2 separate regions of the Homo sapiens genome follow, and region 2 is linked to region 1. Evidence: promoter capture Hi-C in human tissues and cell types (Jung and others, 2019). All regions are on one chromosome and are shown on one strand. The core of a region is centred on a gene start or on the middle of the fragment in contact, and the rest is flanking DNA. Distances in the headings are between cores, read along the strand shown.

What was found. The method cuts DNA at HindIII sites, captures the fragments that hold promoters and counts their contacts. A contact is called where the count stands out against the background at its distance.
Region 2: a fragment that was not itself captured here is called in contact with the fragment with the promoter of CDH6 in region 1 in 1 of the 25 tissues and cell types used here (dorsolateral prefrontal cortex).

Annotation. Positions count from the first base shown.
Region 1 is chr5:31,190,659-31,198,503 of GRCh38, reverse strand. It overlaps CDH6 (cadherin 6), which reads right to left and starts at 4,818. Exons shown (of 12, transcript NM_004932.4): 1 at 4,618-4,818. The HindIII fragment of the contact is 7,217 bases long and covers 1,574-7,845 here.
Region 2 is chr5:30,029,932-30,037,776 of GRCh38, reverse strand. No RefSeq gene overlaps it. Among named protein-coding and RNA genes, the nearest start is that of LINC02064, 640 kb to the right of the region's middle. The HindIII fragment of the contact is 5,954 bases long and covers 840-6,793 here.

The DNA.
Region 1 (7,845 bases), core at 3,569-6,068:
CATACCCTGTGGTATGCTAGCTTTATGTGCCTCATCTTCTTCATAAGTCGTTTCTCCCACAAGATAGTACCACATACACTAAGAAAAGCTTGCAAACCATGCTGCCCATTTACATGACAAATCAAATTTAATATTAACACTCTGGCATTAATGAAATTCTACCTCTTATAAATCATAACAAGGTGATCTGATTCCTGGAAGAAACCAGCACCCAATGGTGTTAGTGTAAAGATATTAAACAGATGAAATAATCTTTAATAGTCTCTGCATATGAGTCTACTCCACATTTATGAATGTGTGCTCAGAGCATTCAGCCTTCAATAACTTTTCTTTGTTGGAAGAGTTGAAAGTTTCTTGGAGAGTTCAATTTTGAACAACTAGACTGTTGGCTGCAGATGGCTCCCTCTGACCCAACTATTTAGTAGTAATTTTGAATGCACCACTTCTTTGAAGGGTTGTTTATACTCTCCCCTCTTCCCTTATCTTCCTACTTTGTGGGTGATAGCATCACAAACACTATACACATTTGGTTCAATAGCTAATTAGAGAGAACCTGAAGTTCCTCATAAGATTGTTTTGAAAAAGAGAGGCTTCTGTACGAATAGAAACTTAAAAAAGTAGACCAGTTAATCTTTGGAAAAGGCAAGCTGGAACAAAAATATTACTATTTAGTTTCAGTAAAGTGCTTCAAGCACTCATCTGTCTTCAAAATAAAATAAAAATCCCAAGGGAGAAAACAACATGAAAAAAACGAAGAAGAAAAGAAAATCAGCCCATATGCTGCATTTCTGTATTTCTTCTCTAATATTCTTGGAACATTGTCACAACTGGGTGCTGTGTTTGCGTGTGTGTGTATGCCTTCTTCTTTCTGCAGTTCTCCTATTACCATAATGTTCTTGAGTCTTTGAATTTAGAATCATTATTCAGAAAAATATTTAAACCAGAGAAAGTTTGATTGTCTACATTTTCACTTTTTTTGTGAAGTAAATAAAGTGTGCTCAGTAGACACTGACTAGGTTGAAACACTGTTAAGAATGCAATTCAGACTGAGTCACTGCTTGTTATTTTTATAAGTGAGACCCTAATTCTGACGGACACCAAAGAATAAGCAGCCATGACTAAGCAAGAAGCACAAGGCAACTGGATTCTGCTGGATGTTATCTTATTTGGAACACATTTCAAACTTTAGAACAGATTTTTAAATTGGAAGTTGAAACCTGCAGGCTGTCAGCAGAAGAGGCTGATTCACCCTACAGAAATTATGCTGCTCCAAGTTCCAGGCAGAGTATTTTAAGGAGTAGGTTACCTAAAATGTGTTGTGATACATCAAGGAAAGAAATGAAACAGAAAAAACCTGGAGTAAGGATGACACAGGTATCTAAACAGCTTTTGGATGTTCAACATATATTTATTTGAACGGGGAATTCTTTGAATTAGATGGCCTTAGTTCAGCATAACTTGTGAATGTTCACAGATTTCTGAAACAGTCATTGCACTTTTTTTTCCTGCAAATATTTCTTTTCTTGTTGTTGGTTGGGGGGCGGGGGGCGGCGGCGCTCTTCATGTAGAACTTTTGGAGTTCTAAATATAATGTTATTATTGTTATTGAGTAAATTAGAAGTAAGGAAGTAGAGTCTTGGAAAAGATCAGAAATAAGAAAATCTTATATTGATGATGGTAAATTCTTTATTAATTGGCCATTGCTTTCATTTGGAATCATCCAGCAGTTACCAAAAGTCTAGATATTCAGAAAACCATAAAAATATTTGTAAGTCCCCTAAATTAGAGGAAGTACAGAAATAATAGCAATAATGATTTGACCTGTCACAAATATTAAGATAGTGCTTAGAGAATACTAACTTGTCTACAGAGAAAAAGTTGTTATACTCTTATCTTAGGTAACAAAATCCATTCTGCAGCTGAACTCCAGGGAGAAATGCATGGAGTGACCCACTAGAGGTCCCTTCCAACTAAAAAAAGTTTGAATAGTTCAAAGGATTCAGCCTTAGTGTGTTGGCATTCGTGACTGCAAAGCAACTACCGGGCCAGAAGGGGGGACCACACATTTCAATTCCTTAGGAAGATTGTAGTTTCACTCAGAATATTGGTCACATTTCATTCCTTTTAAAGAAATCTCTGTGGGACATTCACTCAATTAGTCCTAATTTTCAGATTTGGTGCTATAATAATACAGTATCATATAATACCCTGTGACTGTAGCTGTGCTTTCTAGAAAATTTTTAGCTGTTTTCAAGTGTCTCGAGCAGTATTTTGCAAGGTACATTTTTTCTTAAAAAGGAAGAGTGCCTCACTAAGTTTTTCCTTGCAAAGCTGATGGAAGTGGTGGGTGGAAGAGGTAGGGTACACGTTTTTTGATAGTAGGCAACTTGGTAGAAAATGATTATGTTTCCATATATTATCTTTGCAGAGTTAGCAGTACAAAATGTAAGTGCAATAAATTGGTGTAAAAGCCAGATAGTAAAGGGACTAAAAGTCCCTATGGAGATACCAAACTGTCACTTTCTTGTAATGGTAGCAAAAGATAATTGTAGACACAAATACAGTAGAACTGAATTGGCACCATTTTCCTTCAAAATTGGGCTGCTGCCTCTTAGTTTTTCTGAAGAAATTGGTTACTTCCTCTGCTTCAAAAGTATGGCATGAACCATTACATTAGGTGGGAAAAGATCTGTCTTTTATTTTCCTTCAGTACCTTTTTAATTAGAACACATCAAAGAGCAAAAGGGGATGAGATACAACCCTATGTGATTGCATTTTCCAGTCAATTGTTGGGTTTCTTTTAAGTTTCTGAGCTCTGCATTGACAATCTGGCCTCTGGCATAAACTTTACCCTCCTGGTTATGACATAATGAAGACATCTGCTCAAGCATACCCCTTTCTTCACACAACTGGTTTTACGGTTCTCTAAAATGCAAGCATAGAGCCGTGCAAGTACTATTACACACGGGATGATGCTCAAGTCTCAGGTGAAACTGGAAGAGATTTTTTTTCTCTCTCTCAAAGTAAAATCCTAAGGGTTTTCCTTTTCAGGTAAAGCTTTCAGCAAGAAAAGAAAGGAAATAAGCAACCCTTGGCACTATTCATATAAGCATATTTGTTAGTCCTTCTTGGAAGAGTTGTACATTAACTAGGCATATCCCTGGGTTCCTTTTTCCAACACAGGGAGGAGTTTGCAACCCCCTGGATAATTAACCACTCAGAAAGCCCACATTTTGATCTGCACCCCTCCAGAGCAGCCATATATGTACACAACAGCCACTCCTGCAACATTCTTGCAGGGAAAACCTCTTCCTTCTTTCCCACTGTGTGCTTTACGAAGTGAAAGTGAAGATTCGCAGAGACACGGTCTGATACACCTCTATAGTATGACTATCATCATTTAAATTTTTTTTTTTTTTAATGGGAGTAGGAGACAGAAATGTGTGGCTATTCCAGATGATTAAACTTCTTGGTTCTTGAATGTTCTGAGTCATAGTTAACTCAGGTGGCCAGCCCTTTGCACTGACAGAGACCTGCATTTAACTCCCCATAAAATATGGATTTTATTGCAGCAGTGACACTTCTTAGCACCACGCTGACCTCTCCAGCATCTCCCATCTCGAGATCTACGGTAACTCATGACAGAATATCTAACTACGGAAGAAGTAATCTCAGCTCTGCAACTGCTGCAGTCCACAACATTGCAGCGTCCCTTTTTATTAAATTCTGGGATTAACGCATTGGGGGCTCCAATTTTCCAGCATCTGGCACCGAAAACCAAGCGCACTCCAACCACTCTCCAATCAGTCCGGGGAAGGCTTTATCCCCCAGATTTGAGCCTGGCCAGCCGTGGAGGAGCACGAGCGAACTGCGCCTTCCATATGACTTTTCCCTGGACAGTGTGCTCCATTTTCGGAGTCCAGTGTTGGACTTTCCTTGCAACCTAAGCATTTCTGTCCTAGATGAGCCGGCAGGCGTTGCCCGGAACGTGCAAGCTAACAGTTTTCTTTAGCTCCTTCTACCAGCCAAATCGTCTCTTTAGTTTAAGTTTTCCTTACTGGGAGCATTCCAGAGTTTTCAGACTACCTGATTTTCTGCTTTACCCCAAAAGCTAAGAAATGTAACTCAGCCCAAGCAGTCACCACGCAGACCCTTATGATGCGGGCAGGTGGAGATAAATCAAGCCCCAAACGGCTCGGCGGGACCTGCACGCACCAGCGCCCTTTGGTAATTGACCAGCCAACTTTGCAAATGCCAGAGCTCCCCTGGCAGCCTCTGCCGGCGTAGAGAAAGGCAGCGGGTTCTTCTGCGGCGGCCCGCTTCCCGGTGCCCCCACCCAGCCCCACGGCGGATCGGTCTTACCAGGAGGCGGAGGAGCGGTGCCCAGGCTCCCCGGGAAGCGGCGTCGGTCCTGAGCAGCGGCAGCAGCGCCGCCCGCGCAGCCGGACCCGCGCGCCCGCCCCGACCCGGGCTCGCAGGCTGAGAGCATCCCTCCCAACTCCGGCGCGGCACCCACCGGGCGGAGAGGGCTCTCTCTCTGATTGGCTTCTATCAACGCTACAGAATTAAAAAAAAAAAAAGGGAGATGTATGCATAGCCAACGGAGCCCGAACCCACCTCTGCTCGCCTTCCTGCGCCCGCGGAGACCCTGCGACCCGCCCAGGCTGCTCCTGCCTCCGCCGCCGCCGCCGCCGCGGTCGCCGGCTCTGCCGTTCTTGCTGTCGCGGCTGAAACTGCAGCTCTTGGGATGCGAAGGTTACGGGCTCGGGAGAGCTGGCTCTTGTGGGCACACACTGATTTGCAAGTGAATGAAGTGGGAGGGAGCAAAGAGAGGAGGACTTTGTTAAAGAGGCCCAGTGCCTGCCCCCGCCCGCCCCCTCCCCTTGACAGAATGACTCCCAGTGTTTGAAGTCCTGAGCAATTCGCTCCCTGGAACACTCCTTCAGCCCCAGGCTTTCCCTTGCTTTCTTTCTTTCTTTCTTTCTTTCTTTTTTTTGTTGGAGGGGGTTTAAGATATACTCAGAACTTGTATGACTCCGTCTGTTTCCTCTTTTGTACTATCAAAATGCACCTTGTGCTATTATCAGCAATGGTCTGATGTTCTTTTTTTTTCACCGACCAAGCAATTACAATTCCCAGGGACACAGTACCTCGTCACTCTATCAGTTGGCCAGCTTCGTGTGATAGCACGTATAACATGCACACACATAAAACAAGCCGGTCTCCTGAGATGACAATACCGATGGCTTTTCTTTACAACATAAACAGGCGTTCTCCAGATGCAAGCAGACATGGATAGATTCATACATGTCTTTCCTTCTCTCCTCCCAGGAAGACACGCTTTCACGTAGCCCCATGATCTCTGTTACTCTTTTGGAGTGACCCCAGGATGTCGTAGCATGAAGCCATGCTTCCCTGGGCTTGCAGAAACACTGAAAACCCAAACCCTTCAGGCTTGCCAATGACTTATGACTGATGCCATCGTTCTAAATGAATTGATACAAGCATACAAAAGACTTGCAGAAGAGGGGTGTACAATGATATTCAAGGTCTGCTTAACGTTCGAAGATCCTTCTGGAAAGTTGCCGAAGTTGGATAACCTTCAAATTAAACTCTTTAGTACACATAGCTGTTTGAATGGCTAGATTGATAGTTACAAAGAGGTAATATCTAATGTTAAGGTACTAAGCCACAAAAATGTGAAACATGTCAAAGTACCATTAAATGAGAGTAATGATTTTCTACATAGGAGACATAGGCATGATGGAGTCAGCCACTGTTGGATTAGGAAAATTAAATCTAATTACCACAGTGATTGCACCCAGGGTCACTAGCCTCCCAAACCAGCTGTTCGCCTGTGCTGCAAGTTCTCAGGGAGATTTCCATTGCACAGAGCTCTAAGAAATGCCAGGCTGCTTGGCCTCTGAGTAGTTAAACTGGCTGGAGGTTGGTCCTGTTCCCAACTGAGCTCTTACTAGAAAACCTTTTGTTTCTCCAATAGAAGTTCAGGCATTTAAATAAAGCCCAAATCAAAAGTATTCCTTTAGGCAGCCAGTGCTTCAAAGAAGTGTGCATGGAATGGTTTTAGCACAGATGTTCTGCACATGGAAGATGGAAAGATTTGAGTTTCTTTCTGGAAAAGACCTTCCCCAAATGAAGAATTGCTACCAATTTGTGAGAAGAGGCTGAACATTTTCTTTTTATAGAGCTCTTTAAACACGTATGAAGTAAGAATGGGGGAGAAGAAAGCTGCTTTAGATTCATAGTCCATTCGTCAGATTATGAATTTCTTATACATTTAATTGGAAATATTAGCTCTGTGTGTCTGTGTAGTCCTTTACTGTTTACAAAGTACTTTTGTAGACTATTTTATTTAATTCATCCTTCAATAAGTGGTGTCATATTTTCCCAATTAAGACAGAGAAAACAGACTGATGAAGAGACAACAGAAGTTACATAACATGTCCAAGGCAGTGAAACTGGAACACACAAGAAGCAGAAATATTATTGGTAAAAGGGTGTGCAGGTGTGTATGCAGACATAGAGACCCACAGATTATATGTACAGGTATAATTTATTAGCATATGTGGTAGTAGGATAATACATGAATACATAATACGTAAATATGTCAATAAAATAAGTCATATTTTAAGACCACCTTTAGCAGAAAAAATGTGCAAATTGGCTGATTTTTATGGTAGAAGAGGGTTGATAGTGAAGTTGATTTTCTGTCTGTTGAACCAGTTAATATCTCACAAAGGAAACCTCTAATTGTTTGCAATATACTATTCTTCAAACCCCATTAAGCTACATGTCAAAGGTGTTTAGAACAACAACTGTATGAGTGGACAATCCGTTTGCTTCTGAACAGTTCAGGTGGCAGCATGAAATTATATAAAAGACAGCTCTTGTACTAAAGGATTTTATGTGATTTTTGAGGCTTTCTAGTAATATTTGTCACAATAATTATTCATCTTCAAATACAGGATTGATGTAAATATCTAGAATTATTTTACCCTCATTTCAGAGACTAGGAACTGAGAGTTACTGAGGCTAAATGATTACTTGGAGTTGTGTAAGTTCTGTTTCTGGTTTGTTCTCTATCATCACACCAAAACATGTTGGCAAGTAACAGTAGCCCATCAGAGATAGTTAAGCAAATGAAGAGGTATGTGTCATTATTGTATAGGGTTTCTCCTGAAAGTTAAGGGTGGAAATTCTGCAGAGTCTCTGGAAAGGCCCAGGGGCAGGCCCGGAGAAGCCGCCAGCATTCTTCCCCTAGCTCTATCTCCTCCTCAGGACACTTCTGCTTTCCTTTTGTCTCCATTCACACCTGCCTCCTTCATCCTCCAGTCCACAGGGCAGAACAGCACCCCAACAGTTCCAGAGCTTACCTGTCGAAAAGAGGGCTTCTCTTTCAGCCCCCTTTCTAATTTCTTAGAAAATGGCCCTGACGCCCGGCACGGTGGCTCAAGCCTGTAATCTCAGCCCTTTGGGAGGCCAAGGCAGGAGGATCATTTGAGGTCAGGAGTTTGAGACCAGCCTGGCCAACATGGTGAAACCCTGTCTCTACTAAAAATACAAAAAAATGTAGCCGGGTGTGGTGGTGCGCCCCTGTAATCCCAGCTACTTGGGAGGCTGAGGTGGGAGAATTGCTTGAACCCAGGAGGCAGAGGTTGCAGTGGGCCAAGATTGCACCACTGCACTCCAGCCTGGGCCACAGAGTGAGACGCTGTCTCAAAAAAAAAAAAAAAAAAAAAAAAAAAAGAGAGAGAGAAAAGAAAATGACCCTGATTGGTCCGGTACTGTCTTGGACCCATCAGCTGGGGCTAGCACCCCCAGGAC
Region 2 (7,845 bases), core at 2,567-5,066, 1.2 Mb after region 1:
ATTTAGTTTGTTTCCATATTTTGGCTATTATGAAAAATGCTGCAATGAACACAGGAGTCCAGATATCTTTAGGTGTGACTATTTCATCTCCTTTGCATACATACCAAGAAAAAGAAAGAGAGGGGAGCAGTGCTGGATCATCTGATACTTCAATTTTTAATTGCTTAAGAAACCTACACATTGCTTTCCATAATGGCTATATATATCTGCATTCACACTAACAATGTATTAGGGTTTCCTATTCTCTATATTCTTGTCAATATGTGTTATCTCTTCCCTTTTAGATCATAGTCATTCTTTTGGGTGTGAGGTGAAATTTAACAGTGATTTTTATTTTCATTCCTTGTTGATTAGTGATGTTAAGCACCTTTCCATATACCTGTAGGCTACTTTTATGTGTTGTTTTTAATTTTGAAAAAGATCTGTTCAGGTTTTTTGCTCATTTTAATTCAGTTTTTGTATTTTTATTATTGAATTGTATAATAGGAGTTATTTATACATTTTGGATAGTAATCCCTTCCCTTATCAGATATGTGGTTTGGAAATATATTTCCCCAGTGTTTTGGTTGCCTCTTTGTTGTGTTGATTGTTTCCTTTGGCATGCGGGAGCTTTTCATTTGATGTAGTCTCATTCGTTTATTTTTGTATTTGTAGCCTGAGCTTTTGGTGTGATAGCCAAAAAAATTGATCACCAAGAACTTAAAGACTGTCAAGGAGATTTTTTTTCCCTATGTTCTCTTGTAGGAGTTTTATGACTTCAAGTCCTACATTTAGGTCTTTTATCCATTTCAAATTAATTTTTCTGTATAGTGTAAGATAATGGTTCAATTTAATTCTTTTGTATGTGGAAATCCAGTTTTCCCAGCACCATTTATTTAAGAGACTATCCTGTCTTTATAGTGTCCCCTTGGTGCCCTTGTCAAAAATTAATTTTCCATACACATTTTGATTTATTCCTGGGCTCTCGTAGTAGTTCATTCTCACATTGCCATGAAGAAATACTCAAGATTGGGTAATTTATAAAGAAAAGAGATTTAATTGACTCACAGTTATTCATGGCTGGGTAGGCCTCAGGAAACTTATAATCATGGCAGAAGCTACCTCTTCACAGGGTTGCAGGAGAGAGAATGAATGCCAAGTAAAAAGGGAAGCCCCTTATTAAACCACCATATCTTGTGAGAACTCACTCACTATCATGAGAACAGTATGGAGGAATCCCCTCTCATGATTCAATTATCTCCTTATTCAATTATCTCACCCTTGACAAGTGGGGATTATTACAATTCAAGATGAAATTTGGGTGAGGACACAGCCAAACCATATCACGTCACCTCTGACCCCTCCCACATCTCATGTGCTCACATTTTAAAACACAATCATGCCTTCCCAACAGTCCCCCAAAGTCTTAATTCATTCCAGCATTAACCTAAAAGTCCATGTCCAAAGTCTTATCTGACATGAGACAAATCCTTCCCACCTATGAGCCTGTAAAATTAAAAGCAAGTTAGTTACTTCCTAGATACGATGGGCTACAGGCATTGGGTAAATACAGCCATTCCAAATGGGAAATATTGGCCAAAACAAGGGGACTACAGGCCCCAGGCAAGTCCAAAATTCAACAAGAAATTATTAAATCTTATAGCTCCAAAATGATCTCCTGTGACTCCATATCTCACATCCAGGTCTTGCTGATGCAAGAGGTGGGCTCTCACAGCCTTGGACAGCTTCACCCCTGTGGCTTTGCAGGGTACAGTCTCCCTCCTGGCTGCTTTCACTGCTTGCATTGAGCACCTGTGGCTTTTTCAGGTGATTGGTGCAAGCTGTCAGTGGATCTACCATTCTGAGGTCTGGAGGATGGTGGTTCCACGAGTTAGTGCCCCAGTGGGAACTTTGTTTGGGGACTCCAACCCCACATTTCCCTTCCACACTGACCTAGCAGAGGTTCTCCATGAGGGTTTCACCCCTGCTGCAAACTTCTGCCTGGACATCCAGGCATTTTCATCCATCCTCTGAAATCTAGGCAGAGGTTCCCAAACATAAATTCTTGACTTCTGTGCATCTGAAGGCCCAACACCACATATAAGCCACCAGGGCTTGAGGCTTACACCCTTGAAGCAAAGGCCAGAGCTGTACCTTGACCCCTTTTAGCCACACCTGCAGTGGCTAGGATGCAAGGCACCAAGTCCTGAGGCTGCACACAGTAGGGTGGCCCTGGACCCAGCCCAGGACACCAATTTTCCATCCTACCCCTCTGGACCTCTGATGGAAAGGGCTGCTGTGATGGTCTCTGACATGCTCTGGAGACATTTTTCCCATTGTCTTGGTGATTAGCATTTTGTTCCTCATTACTTATGCAAATTTTTGCAATGGGCTTAAATTTCTTTCCAGAAAATTGGTTTTTCCTTTTCTACTGCATTGTCAGGCAGCAAATTTTCCAGACTTTTATGCTCTGTCACCTCTTGAATGCTTTGCTGCTTGGAAATTTCTTCCACTAGATACCCTAAATCATCTCTCTTAAGTTCAAAGTTTCACAGATCTCTAGGGCAGGGGCAATTAGCTGCCAGTTTCTTTGCTAAAGCATAGAAAGAGTGACACTTACTCCAGTTTCCAACGATTTCCTAATCTCCATCTGATATCACCTCAGCCTGGACTTTATTGTCACTATCAGCATTTTGGTCAAAGCCATTCAACAAGTGTCTAGGAAGTTTCAAACCTTCCCATATTTCTTCTGTCTTCTGAGCCCTCAATGTTTCTAGGAAGTTTCAAACTTTCCCACATTTTCCTGTCTTTTCTTGAGCCCTCCAAACTGTTCCAACCTCTGACTGATAGCCAGTTACAAAGTCACTTTCACATTTTCGGGTATCCTTATAGCAGCACCCCACTCTCTGTGGTAGCAATTTACTGTATTAGTCTGTTCTCACACTGCTATGAAGAAATACCCAAGAATGAGTAATTTATTTAAAAAAAAGAGGTTTAATTGACTAACAGTTATATATGGCTGGGGAGGCCCCAGGAAACTTACAATCATGCAGAAGGCTCCTCTTCATAGGGCGGCAGGAGAGAGAATGAGTGCCAAGCCAAGGGGGAAATCCCTTATAAAACCATCAGATCTCATGAGAACTTACTCACTATCTCAAAAACAATGTGGGAGAAACGGCCTCCATGATGCAATTATCTCTATCAGGTCCTGCCCTTGATACATGGGCATTATTACAGCTAAACTGTGTCAGTTCTGTATTCTGTTCCACTGGGCTGTTTCTGTAATTATGCAGGTATCATTCTTTTGATAACTATAGCTTTGTAATATAATTTTAAATAAGGAAATGCTACATCTGTAACTTCATTTTTTTCTTATATTGCTTTGGCTATTCTGTTTTCGTGTGTGTGTGTGTGATTTCATATTAATTTCAGAATTGCTTTTTTCTACTTCCATAAAAATGACGTATTATTCTGATAGGAATTGCATTAAATCTTTACATTGCTTTGGGTAGTATGAACATTTTTACAATATTAATTTTTTTCCCATTTATAGGTATTGGATATTTTCTCATTTATTTGTTTCTTCTTCAATTTTTTTCATCAATGCTCTGCAGTTTTCAGTGTACAAGTATTTCACATCCTTGGTTGAATTTATTTCTTGGTACTATTTTTATACTATCATAAATGGGATAGTTTTCTTGATTCTTTTTAGATAGTTTATTATGTGTGCAGAGAAATCCAACTAAGTTTTGTATGTTGATTTTATACCTGTAAATTTACTGAATTCATTTATTAGTTTGAACAATTTTTTTTTGGAATCCATATTCTGGATAGGAATATGCCATTCGTAAATTGACATCATTTTACTTTTCTTCTTTCCGATTTTCATGGCTTTTATTTCTTTTTCTTTTATTTCTTTCTACCTGTCTTTGATAGGACTTCTAGTTCTGTGTTGAATAAAAGGGGTAAGAGTGAGCATCCCCACCTTGTACCACATCGTAATGGGAAAGCTTTCAGTTGTTTTCTGTTAGTTGTGGTGTCTTCAAAAATAAACTTTATTGTGTTGAGGAATTTTCCTTCTATAACTAAACTGTTAAGAGTTTGTATCAAAAAAAAGATTGCTAAACTTTGTCAAAATCTTTTTCTGTGTCGATTGAGAAGATTATGTTGTTTTTATCTTCCATTCTGTTAATGTGATATATCATATTGATTAATTTGCAACTGTTAAGTCCCGGCTTGCATGCCAGAGACAGATCCCATTTGGTCTTTATCTATAACCTTCTTGATGTGTTGTTGAATCCAGTTTGCTAATATTATATTGAGCATTTTGCATGAATGTTAATCAGGGACATTGGCCTGTAGTTTTCTTTTTTGTGGGGTCTTTGACTGGCTTAGGTATCATCGAGGTGATACTGGCTTCATAATATGTGTTTGGAAGTATTTATATTTCTTTGAATGTTTGCTAGAATTTAGCCATGAAGCCATCTGGTCTAAGACTTTTCTCCGTTGGAAGGTTTTTGATTACTTCTTTAATGTTTTTAATCATTCTTGGTCTGTTCAAGCTTTCTATTTCTTCCTCATTCAATTCCCCTTGCCAAAAGATGTCACTTGGTACATAGTAGCACCTAATAAATACTGTAAAGATGTGTCTAGGTAAATAGTAATTAAATAGAGAATTTCTAGGTATATTTTTATTGTGAGAAGGAAGTAAGATAATCCACATGCTTAAAGTATTTAAAATACGTCTAGTGCACAGGAATCCATAGACAGATATGTGGTGTCATTGCCATAATGTAGAGGATGGGAATTACTAGGTAACAATGTTTTGATTTAAGAAAAAGGAGCAAACATATTAACACAGAATGAGTGAAGATATATAATTGCATACCACTTGTGCTTGAGATACATTTTTCCAATTGTACAATAAACTACGGTGCTTAAATAAAATTCTGTCTGCCTTTTAATGTGGGAAAGTTCATGTCTGAACTATAATCTTGTCTTTTATCAGCATATGTAGGTTTTTTTTTGCCACAACAGGGATTTAAGTCCAGATAGAGGTGTTGTTAGCATACAGTATTTTAAATAAACCGGCTTACATCACTTGAGTTCATGGCCTTTATTTGAATTTTCTAATATTGAAAGACAAAAATCAATAGGTATTGTTAACATGGCGGTAATAGTTAATTCTACAAAGTTCTAGAGTAGAACTCAGGAGGTAAGACAAATAGTTGAGAAGAAAGGCAAATTAAAGAAATTGTGAAGACTATTTAGAAAACAGTACATTCTGCTTTTAATCAAGCCATTTAAACATATTCTTACAAATTGGGATACATTATTAACTTATCTAAATAGTTGCTTCTGTTTTTGGCTTAAATTTTAATAGAGCTATCTCTGATAGAACATAATTAAATTGTCAGAAAAGGCAGAATAAGGGTAGACATTATAGACAATTCCAGGTAGGTAAGACAAAAATTTCATTCTAAATTTAGAGATTAATAAATATGCATTAAAGATTTTCTTTAAAAAAGGATATGTGAAAAAAACTAAATAATTCAAGATGTTGTATTGAAGTTGAAAGACTGTAAAGAAATTCCCTAAAAAGATAAAATCATTGCAAAATATTTACTGTATTTTCAAAAATTTTAGTAATATTAATTTTCTGGTCTTTGAGAAACAAAGACAGTGAGGATATGACTCTGACATCAAGTTGATTACAATGTGTTGGGAAGCAAATGAGATAAGGAACTGAATAATTTCAATATTGACAAGTATTCCATTAAAGAGATATATGCATGACTAACATGACATTGATAATGGAGGAGTCTGGTGTAAATATGAGTTAATAAACAGATGAGGAGAGGGAAAGAAACATTTAAATTTAATTTTGAAGATATGTTTTACTTTCTTATGATCATTAAGAAGACATTTGTTATAAGCAGAGAGACTGCAGAAAAAGAATTTGGAAGTCTGCAGTAATATTTGGGGAATCATCATAACCTTACATGAAGAGAAAGTACACTTTATAGGAGGAATGGCCAGAGATTGATAGAAAAGAAAAATATAAATTACATACCTGGCTTAACAGTTCTTACAAAGAGTATATTAGTATGCTAGTGCCACAATACTTTAAACTTTTTTCCTAGAACAATGTTTTCCTACTTCCTGATGAAAAAGACTCCCATAAAACTCTTTGATAACCACCATCCTCTCCTCCAGCATTGCTGCTCAACTGAAATCCCACTAATAAAACAACTTGTGTCATTCTTTAAGGGCAAGACTCAAAAGACTATTTCTTGGGAGGTATATTTATTGCCTTCAATTCATGTGGAAGTATAAAGGACTGATAGATCCTTTTTTTTTTTTTAACAAAGTACATTTAACAGGAAAAGAGATATAAAAAATGCTAGAGATAAAGACATTTCCAGCAAGGGAATGAAACAAATACCTCGAGTAGGGGAAGTAAGCCTCCCTTATTTTATTTGGTCTCTGAGGCTTATGCTGTTACTAAAGAGGAACAAAGAATCTGTCTTTTATTTATTTATTTCAGCTCATTCACACAAATAATATTTTTCCGGATAATGTAAGCTAAGCCTCATTTATAAAGTTCAACATCATCTAAAATCATAGCATAAAGATTTACCAGAAAAGAAATCAGAACACAACAGTCAGAGTTACAATAAATGGTGTTCTTTATTTCAGACTCATGTAAAGCCCTTGGATTCAGGAAAAACCTAAACCTGCTATCAAATGACATTATTAGAACTATAACAAACACTATTCATCATTGCTGTGGATTTTTTGTGGAGGAGAATGACAGGAGGATGAAAAGAGTATTGTATTATTTTTGGTGGTTAACTCCCACCTTTTATGTTATTTGTTCATCAAATGTTTAAGACGCTATTGTGCCTCCTACCCATTTGTGTAGTACTTAGTGTCTAGCATCTACAATGAAAGTTACCAGCATTATATTCTCTGAATAATGTTCTGATCTGTTAGTGTTGATTTAATTGTCAGCAGCAACAATTACAGCAGAAATTGCTATGATCCCTGGAAAACCTTATAAAGACAGAAGATTCTGAAATTCTAAAGGAAAGGGTTGAGGACTCTCTATTCAATTACCTTTTACCTAGACACATTTTTCACAGTATTTATTAGGTGCTACTAGGTACCAGGTGACATCTTTTGGCAAGGGGGATACAAACCTGAATGAATCAGTCACTGTTGCAAAAACACATACCAACGCCTCAGCAGCTTTCCCAGAGTAAATGTGAGAATATATTCGAGGTAGCTAAGGCTGCTCTTCTTGACTCCTCTCCCTTGTTATTATTGTCAGCAATTAGTCCGAACAACTTCCTTTACCTTCATTTCAGAGTAACTGGAATGAAGGAACACTGTTTATGAAAGTGAAGAAGAGAATAGTGGGTTATTAAAAGCAAACATACTTCCTCCAATTCATCTTTCAGTGAGTCAGATATTTACCTTTGTTGTGGCACATGCAAGTATTTATACTGGCAATATCTTAGTGCATTCGGGCCACTCTAACAAGGTACTATAAACTGGGTGGCTTATAAACAACAGAATGTTTTTTGTTTATGTTTTATTCTCACAGTTCAGGAAGCTGCAAGTCTGAGATCAGGGTGCCAGCATATTGGGTTGTGATGAGGTTTCTCTTGTGGATTGCAGACTGCTGACTTCTCTCCCTGTCCTCACATGGCAGAAGGGACAAAGGAATTCTCTTGGACCTTTTATAAGCAGTAATTCCATCCATGAGGGCTCCACCTTCATAATCTTATCATCTCCCAAAGGTCCCATCTCCTTATATCATCACCTTGGGAGTTAGGATTTAAACTCATAAATTTTGGGGGA